3 separate regions of the Homo sapiens genome follow, and all the other regions are linked to region 1. Evidence: promoter capture Hi-C in 16 types of primary human blood cells and fetal thymus (Javierre and others, 2016). All regions are on one chromosome and are shown on one strand. Each heading gives the region's core, a stretch centred on a gene start or on the middle of the fragment in contact. The rest is flanking DNA. Distances are from core to core; before and after follow the strand shown.

Region 1 (2,817 bases), core at 205-2,704:
ATTTTCCAACACTGTCCACATTGTGCCATTTAAGACAGTGGCTGTCAATACTCAAAGTATGGTTACAGTCCGTTGAATGAGAAACTCAAAATGTTACAAAAAATAATAAAATTGTTTCTAGTGTTTCTTCTTCATTCACCCAAAATATATTCCACATTGGATTTTGAAAAACTGGGTTACTGAAACTCCTTTTCTTAGCTATCTTAAAAACTTCAAAAAAAAAAAAAATCAGGATCCCTTCCCTTTATTCTGTCAATTCTGTAATTTCCCAATACTTTAAATTCCTTTTCTCACCAAAGTAGTTCCGTTTCTATTATCTTCTCCTAACAATATTTTCTAGGCCAATATTCTGATGTTCATCGTTGCATCTTTTAATGCTAAAGACTGTACAAATCAAAGTTCCTAATGTCATCAAGGCAAATAATTATTTGAAATACAGCACTAGTCAAATTAAGAGTACCAAGAAAAACACTTAAATTGTGAGAGTGCAAATGAGACCAAAATTAGAATGAATTGCAAATGCATTTATTGAAGGAATAATTACTGATTTTTGAGGAAGACCAAAAGGTCTGAAATCAAACGCAACTCTGATTTCAGAAGAGCCACACAGAACACAAATTAGGGAGCTTCCAAGATGCTACTTAAATGCATTTTCATCAGCTTAATTCTAGGCCTTACTGCCCATAGTAAATCTACTGCCCTAGTAGCCAAGTAACCAAACTGCTCAATATAACAACTACATTATCAAGTGTTTTACTTGGTTTCCAAAACCACTCTGTTGCAAGTAGGTCTCAGGAAATTGGTCTTTAAAAAAAAAAAAAAAAAAAAGGAAATTTAAGTTTCTAGGGTTAAATTCTCCCGTCACAGTGTGGCCGAGACAGGAAGGAGCAAATATGCTTCTTTGCGGGAAGGATCTGGAAAGATGCGGCCGACCAGTCTTTTGCACATTGGCTTCCAAGGGGAGGGTTGGGGAAATGGAAACCAGCTTTCAGGTGCGGAACACGATCACTAGTGGCGAGAGGCCGCTGCCTGGGGCTGGAAAGCCGCACCAGCGGGGTTGGCAAGGAACGCATCCCACCATTCGCGGCAGCTGCTGCAACGCTGGAGGTCCAGGTGAGGCTGGGGAAGTCGCCGGCCTCGCCCAACGTGGCAGGGAGGGGCCGGGAGGAGCGGCCGGCGGACTCAGCCGGCGGGATGGGCCAGCGCGCCTTCATCCCCCTCCCCGCCCCCAGACCTACCATGGAACTCGAAGTGGCCGATGCGCTGGCCCTGGGCGTCCTGGGCCGCGGTGCTGCTGAAGCTGCCCCGCAGGGTCTTACCCTGGCTGCCCTGCGGCCACCAGCAGCACGTGAGGGCCACAGCCAGCAGCCGCAGCCCCCCCATGCCCGTCTCCAGGTCTGCACCGACGCCTCGGCTCCCAGCCGCCGGCGGCTGCCCGCCCCACGTCGGCAGCTGGGGGAGGCGGGGTGGGCGCCGGAGACCTGCTGCTCTGGAGCCTGAGAGCCAATGAGGCGGGCTCCTCTGCCATAAGCCGAAGACATTCACCAGTCAGAGGCCGAAATGGGCGGGACGCGCAGATCCTAGCGTCCCATCAGTCCCCGGCTTTTGACTAGTTCCCGCCTTTTTCTTTAATGAGGAATCAGGAGGATGTTGCTTCAGGTTACGGAAAACTCATCTCCCTCCTCATTGCCTAGCACGTCTTGCTACTGAGCATGCGCGGGCGCGCTGGCACGAGTCCGCGGGGCCTTCGAAGGGCTTGTGGGATTCGGAAAAAACTTAAGAAATGCAGGACAGGACTGTTTCTGGCCGAGAGAGTTAAACTCCCGCAAAGAAAAAACTGTGTTCTTATGCAGATTTTCTTCCTTGGCGCCTGTATAACCTACAGGACGTGTCCGATTTAATGTCTCAAAGACACTTAGCTCCGCATGACCACAATTTAACGCATGCCTTCTCTTGGCATCTCCAGCCGATTTTTCCCTCCTAGGTTCTCTGGCTTCTCGAATTACATTACCCCCACCCCCACCCCCGCCCGCAGACCAGACCGCTGGGAATTGTAGGCCCCCCCCCCCCCGCAATTCAATCAATTCAATAACAAGTGTGGATTAGCCCTTCTTCTGGTGAGGGTGGGAAGCAGCGGCCACAGTCCTACTCAGTTCATCACTTTGTTGGCCTATGGCAAAGACCGTCTCTACAGTCTTCATTCTAATTGGCTACAATCCATCTCTACCCTACAGCCACAGAAAGCTGTAGGAAACAATTTGCTGCACTTGCCTTGAAAGGTTCTCAATTGCCTTTAGCACACAACCCAAACTCTAGAATATGGCTCTTCAACTCTCAAATGTCTGTTTTTTCTCATCTCCATCCTTACCGCCGTTGGTTTCCTGAACACTCCCAAGTTCTCCCTTCTAGGCCTATATCACTCCCTGATCCCTCTGGCTAGAATACTTCTGCTTATTCCAACACTGGACCTCCTCACCTTCCTTTTCCTCCTTTACTCCTCCTTCCCAAGGCACTTTAAGAAGCCTTTCTCAAACCCCTAAGTCTGTAGTAGATGCCCCTGGAACCAGAATCCCTTACTTCCCTACCAGAGCACTCACGCACTGTACTGTAAGTATCCATTCATGTGTCTGAAATCTCCGCCTCTATTGTCAGCTCCAGCTGGTCAGTGACTACACTTTTTTTTTTTTTGAGACGGAGTTTCACTCTTGTTGCTCAGACTGGAGTGCAATGGCGCGATCTCGGCTCACCTCAACCTCTGCCTCCCGGATTCAAGCGATTATCCCACCTCAGCCTCCCGAGAAGCTGGGACTGCAGGCA
Region 2 (2,700 bases), core at 79-2,578, 150 kb after region 1:
GAGTTTTATGCTGAAGCCAATTCAGCCTTAAATGATTTTTCACATATTGAGATCCAGGTTAAAGTATTTCAGTTAACAGAGTTATAGCTTCTGGAATTTCAAATTCATGAGGCAATTCATGCAAATATATTGCACATGACATTTATTAAAATTTTTTTTGTGAAATCTCTCCAAGCAATAGAGCTACAAAATTGTATGTGATCACAATAATGAGCAAAAGAAGGCAGAACATTAAAGTGCAGGAAAAACTCTGAAGCAATCTCTAGTAATTCCTAAGGTAATTGAGGCAAATGCACACATTTATCATGGAAAATAAGATTAGGCCAGAGAAATGCTAAGTGCTGTCTTCAATATTAAATTTAGATATAATCCAGAAAAGAGAAAAAAAAGGAAACCAACAGACTGTAAAGTTATTTAAATGCCAAGAAAGAAACTGTGTTACATAGTGGTAATTTCCTTCCCAATTCCTAAAGATACTATTCTTAAGAGTATACTTGGATGTTATCCTTTTAGAAAGTACATTTGGTGAGTTCTACGTTCCTTCAATTCATCAGTGGCTGGGGGGTCCATAGGTTCCATAATTAATACTAAACAGCTCGTGCCTGTTTTCTACCTTGTACGTTGACATTCTAAATGGAATACAACATACAGTAGTCTTATTACTAATCAGTGTATAAAATAAGTTCATTAATTTAGAAAATGTGCAGCAGGAGAAAATGAATTTCTAAAACCACACATAGCTGATGGACTACCATAAATTAACCCTGTAAGAAAGAGCCCTTCTGAGTCTGCTGTTCTAGGCTACAACAAAGTTAGTGAAATCAAAAGCTCACAATTACAGGTATAAATAATTCTGAGTTAGAGTGAGTTTAGTTGAAATTTAAAAAAAGAAGGATAGGTGTATCAGTCTGTTTTCATGCTGCTGATAAAGATGTATCTGAGACTGAGTAATTTATAGAGAAAAAGAGGTTTAATGGACTTACAGTTCTATGTGGCTGGGGAGACCTCACGATCATGGTGGAAGGTGAAAAGCACATCTTACATGGTGGCAGCCAAGAGAGAACTTGTGCAGGAAAACTCTCATTTATAAAACCATCAGATCTCATGAGACTTATTCACTATCATAAGAACAGCATGGGAAAGACCCACCCCCATGATTCAATTACATCCCTTCCACAACATGTGGGAACTGTGGGAGCTACAATTCAAGATGAGATTTGGGTGGGAACACAGCTAAACCATATCAATAGGGCATTGCTTTTTTCTTCCCAAGAGTGAAACATTTAAAGATAGATCCATTTTGCTTTACTTTAAATAAGAAAAATCATAATTAGACTAATATTGTAAAAAAATAAAATAACATTGTTGTATGTGAAATTTTTATTTTTATTGGTTTATGATTTTTATATTATTTATAATTACAGAAATGTTGGTGAAAATAGTTTTTAAATGCCTGTAATTCCATCTCAATTTTTTTGTTTATTTCTTTTCATATTCTCATATGTTTTATACAGTTGCAATTATAGTCATCCCTCAATATCTTGAGGGAATTAGTTCCAGGACCCCCCACCATGGGTACCAAAATCTGTGACTACTCAAGTCCCTTATATAAAATGGCATTATATTTGCATATAAGGTACGCACATCCTTCTGTATACTCTAAATCATGTCTAGATTACTTATAATTGGATTCAGAGGACCATCTCTATAAGGCACCTATTATGTATAATATCCCATTATCACTTAATTTATTTAATTTTTAGGTTGTTGCATAGTTTTCTAAATTTTTTCATCTTAAAATCTTAGTGCACATAAAAGATTCAAAATATAAAATGTATAAAATGAAGTCCGTATTATCACTACCATCTTCCAGCAAACAATACAATTTTTTTCTAATTTTCCAGATATATTTTATAAATACACAAACAAATATGTTTATATATTTATCTACATGGTAGCATATTATAGACCCCTCTGTCCCTTTGCCTTTCCCCCACTTTTTTTTTAACTTATTCCAAATCATTTCAGTTCTGAAGGGCATTCTTATTCTTTTTTTATAGCTGTATAGTATTCTTTTGCATGGATTTATCCTGAAATGTATTATTTTAATTTTAAATTTAAGATTTTAAACTATTTTCTGTTGATGGACATTTAGGTGATTTCTAATCGTTTGCTTTACAATGCTACAACAAACATCCTTGAACATGTAAGGTAAGTAAAGAGAATAGAATCCCTGGCTTAAAGGGTAAAAAAATGCATTTGAAATTTGATAAATGTTACAGAATTGCCTCTAGAAGTTTGGACAATATTCCCTCCTAATACCTGTGTGTCACCTATGTGTCAGAGCCACAGTTCCCCCATCATTCCCTCTCATTATGCTCTTTGTCCCTGTGTCATCACACTTTTTCATCTTTGTCAACGTGATAGGTGAAAAGGCATTTTAGCAAATTTTAATTTGCATTTCTCTTCTTATAAGTGAAGTCTAGGCCAGATGCAGTGGCTCACGCCTGTAATCCCAGCACTTTGGGAGGCTGAGGTGGGTGGGTTACCTGAGGTCAGGAGTTCAAGACCAGCCTGGCCAACATGGTGAAACCTTGTCTCTACTAAAAATACAAAAATTAGCCGGGTGTGGTGTTAGGCACCTGTAGTCTCAGCTGCTTGGGAGGCTGAGGCAGGAGAATCACTTGAACCCGGGAGGTG
Region 3 (2,725 bases), core at 91-2,590, 180 kb after region 1:
GAACGAAGCTTATCTAACACATGCATTTTCTCTGTAAGACACCTCAAGAACTCCTCAGCTTTAGGAACACTACACAGCACTTCAGCACCACATTTGGTGGGGGACATTGTAAACAGCAAAATCAACAGAAAGCACAAAACTGAGAAAAAGATGGCACTAAATAGACTGTGAAAAGAACACTAGTTTTAGTATGAGAGTTGAAATGAGAAGGCAGAGCATCACCTTGTTGAACCTCAGCTAGAATGTGGGCATCAGATGAGTTAAATTTGTCACTGCTCTGTGCATATGCATGTCTGCAAATCACTATGAAAATGAATTTTAATGAGTAGGTGAACTAGCAAGTATGAAATCTGCAAGTAATGAATTACAAAAACACCAGTACTATATTTAATTCCTATACTTAATGAGGTCTTTCAAACCACCAGATTTTGGCCTCTTTGTGGAGGAAAATGAAATGATAAATAACATGAAGTGAGTTGGTAGTATGGCATACTTATTTCATATAATTCTTATAAGAATAGGTAAGGGGCTAAAAACTTTTCCTCTATCATCTTAGGTTTAGTGCCAGGCCTATGAATTAAACTGATAAAATACAGGTTAAAAGAAGAAAAAAAACCAGAGCCTATTTACACATGGTATATGTAGGACATGAGGGAGAACTCACTGATGAGTAACTCAGAGGGCTGGTTAGAATTGATAGCTTATATACCATCCTAACAGAGGGTGATAAATTCTGGAGACCTAGATAAAGGAAAGGGGGATTGGGGCTCCTAGGGGAGGTAAGTTGTGGGAAGGTGACTAAAAATATATAGTAGATAAGAGTTGTTTGGTAAGATTGTTATGCAAATAACAGCTCTCTCCTCTTTCTAGTAAGGAAGATGTGAACACCTTTACAAATAAAAATTTGTGTCAACTTTACAATGGGAAATTTATGCCCTACTTTTAGGCAAAAATGGGGAGGAGGGAGAATTCCTCTTATGTCTGGTATTTCTCAATTGTCTTCAGCTCAAAATAATTCTTATGTGAAAGTGGCATATTTTGGGGTGGCATATTCTGACCATCTTCAGATAAAATAGACAATTATTATGGCAGAACAAATGAGCATTTTTTTGTTGTTTTTGCTGTTATAACAGTTCTTAACAGATCATTCAATACAATTATGCAAACTGAGACATGGATAAAATTTTCACAGATGTGAGAAGTGTATCAACGGTGTAAAAGACTATTCCAGAATTAATTCTTGCTTTTCGTCTTGGGTTTTAATAAACGCAGCAGGAAAAATCTCCTGGGTCAATGGTCTGAATAGATAGAATGTTTACCTGAGATGCTTATCTGGTAAGCTCTCAGGATTTGCTAGTAAGTAGTTTGTAGGGACTCTAAGTCCTAGTTTGAAAATGGGGATTAGCAAGTAGGTTAAGGGTTTAGATTCTCACATTCACGGTGATTTTAAGAAAGGGGTTACAAACTGGTTTTGGGGAAGGAGATTTTTGCTCTCAGACCTGTCTTTACCAGCTGTGTGCGGAATGAATGCCTTGGAATTGCACAGGAATCCCTTTAGGTGGCGCTAGCTCATGCTGCTTAGTTGCAGCCAGCACCTTCCTTGTTGCCTCATACTTTGCAGTTGCTGCAATTGCATTACCTGCTTGGTCAAGGAGGCAGTCCTGCAGGCCACACTCAGAAGCTACTAGGCTAAGTAATAACTGCACAGAAGCAAGAGCCCTTTGCCCTAGGACTGGCGCCTTCATCACTCTTTCCTCCCCTCTTGCCAAAGGTAGAAATTTGCTTTGCTGGGTGTTTTTTTTTGTTTTGTTTTTTGTTTTTTCCTACATCACTCACAGCCTTCACTCTTTCTTGAGTTTGAGTTTTTTTTTTTCACATCATTTGGATCTCCCTCATTCAAACTGAGGAAAGACTTCTTACTAATAGCAATAAGGCACATTCTTGGGGAAGTCAGATGCCTGAGGATTTAGGGGTACTTAACTCTTTTTCCTTTTTCATGCTTTACAACTGTGATTAAGTCAGTGCAGACCACCCGTCACCATTTCTTACTGCTTAATTAAGAAACATCTCAGAATTTTCTCCCTGTTAGTTTCAGGCAGATTAGAAGGGAAAAATATTTTAACAGATGCTAAAGAGTCTTTCCAATGATTTGAAGATTAGGAGAGTGCCTTTTATAGAGCTCCCAAAGTGTTCCCTGGCTGCTTCTGCCAGAATTGAAAAAAATTTAGTGGCTGAGTACTTAATGAAAAGCCAAGATGCTCTGACAAAGAACTCCTGGGCAGCTATTACTGTAGCTCCAAAGAGTTATTGCAAATTAAATTTTATTCTTGTCCTTTATGATCTATATCAGGCAGTAGGTGTAACAGCATGACTGAAATATTCTTGTCTTACACTTTTGTTAATGAAAGCACCCATTCATTAATATATGTGTACCAGCAGGAAATATGAAATGGTGTGCTCCAGTTGAAAAGCCAGATATTGTATTGTCAACTTCGTAGGCAAAAGGCAGGGTAAATACAATTAGAGTTCGGGGACAGGGTAATTACTGTCTCCATCTGGTAACGCATTCTTTATCTGAGCTCAACCGTCTTACGGGTTTTAAGTACTTATGGGGCATCTTGCTAGGCAACCTAATAAAGGATTACTTTTTAAATGTTACCTTGAAAGCTTTTCAAGATTGCCTTTGTCTAACAACACAATATCACATCTGGTATGATTGCCATCG

What was found. Contacts are between HindIII fragments. The CHiCAGO score rates a contact against its expected background, and 5 or more counts as called.
Region 2: a contact is called between a fragment that was not itself captured here and the fragment with the promoter of GPR180 in region 1, in 6 of 17 cell types (naive CD4 T cells, activated CD4 T cells, naive CD8 T cells and 3 more). The highest score is 8.1, in naive CD4 T cells.
Region 3: a fragment that was not itself captured here is called in contact with the fragment with the promoter of GPR180 in region 1 in 5 of 17 cell types (naive CD4 T cells, total CD4 T cells, activated CD4 T cells and 2 more); the score reaches 6.7 in naive CD4 T cells.

What each region holds. Positions count from the first base shown.
Region 1 is chr13:94,600,494-94,603,310 of GRCh38, reverse strand. It overlaps GPR180 (G protein-coupled receptor 180), which reads right to left and starts at 1,454. Exons shown (of 9, transcript NM_180989.6): 1 at 1,239-1,454. The coding sequence starts at 1,383. RefSeq lists a silencer at 1,044-1,643 and an enhancer at 1,422-1,716. The HindIII fragment of the contact is 8,659 bases long and covers 1-2,817 here.
Region 2 is chr13:94,452,118-94,454,817 of GRCh38, reverse strand. All of the region lies in intron 6 of DCT (dopachrome tautomerase), which reads left to right. Among named protein-coding and RNA genes, the nearest start is that of DCT, 26 kb to the left of the region's middle. The HindIII fragment of the contact is 5,711 bases long and covers 1-2,700 here.
Region 3 is chr13:94,415,512-94,418,236 of GRCh38, reverse strand. No RefSeq gene overlaps it. Among named protein-coding and RNA genes, the nearest start is that of DCT, 63 kb to the left of the region's middle. The HindIII fragment of the contact is 2,659 bases long and covers 11-2,669 here.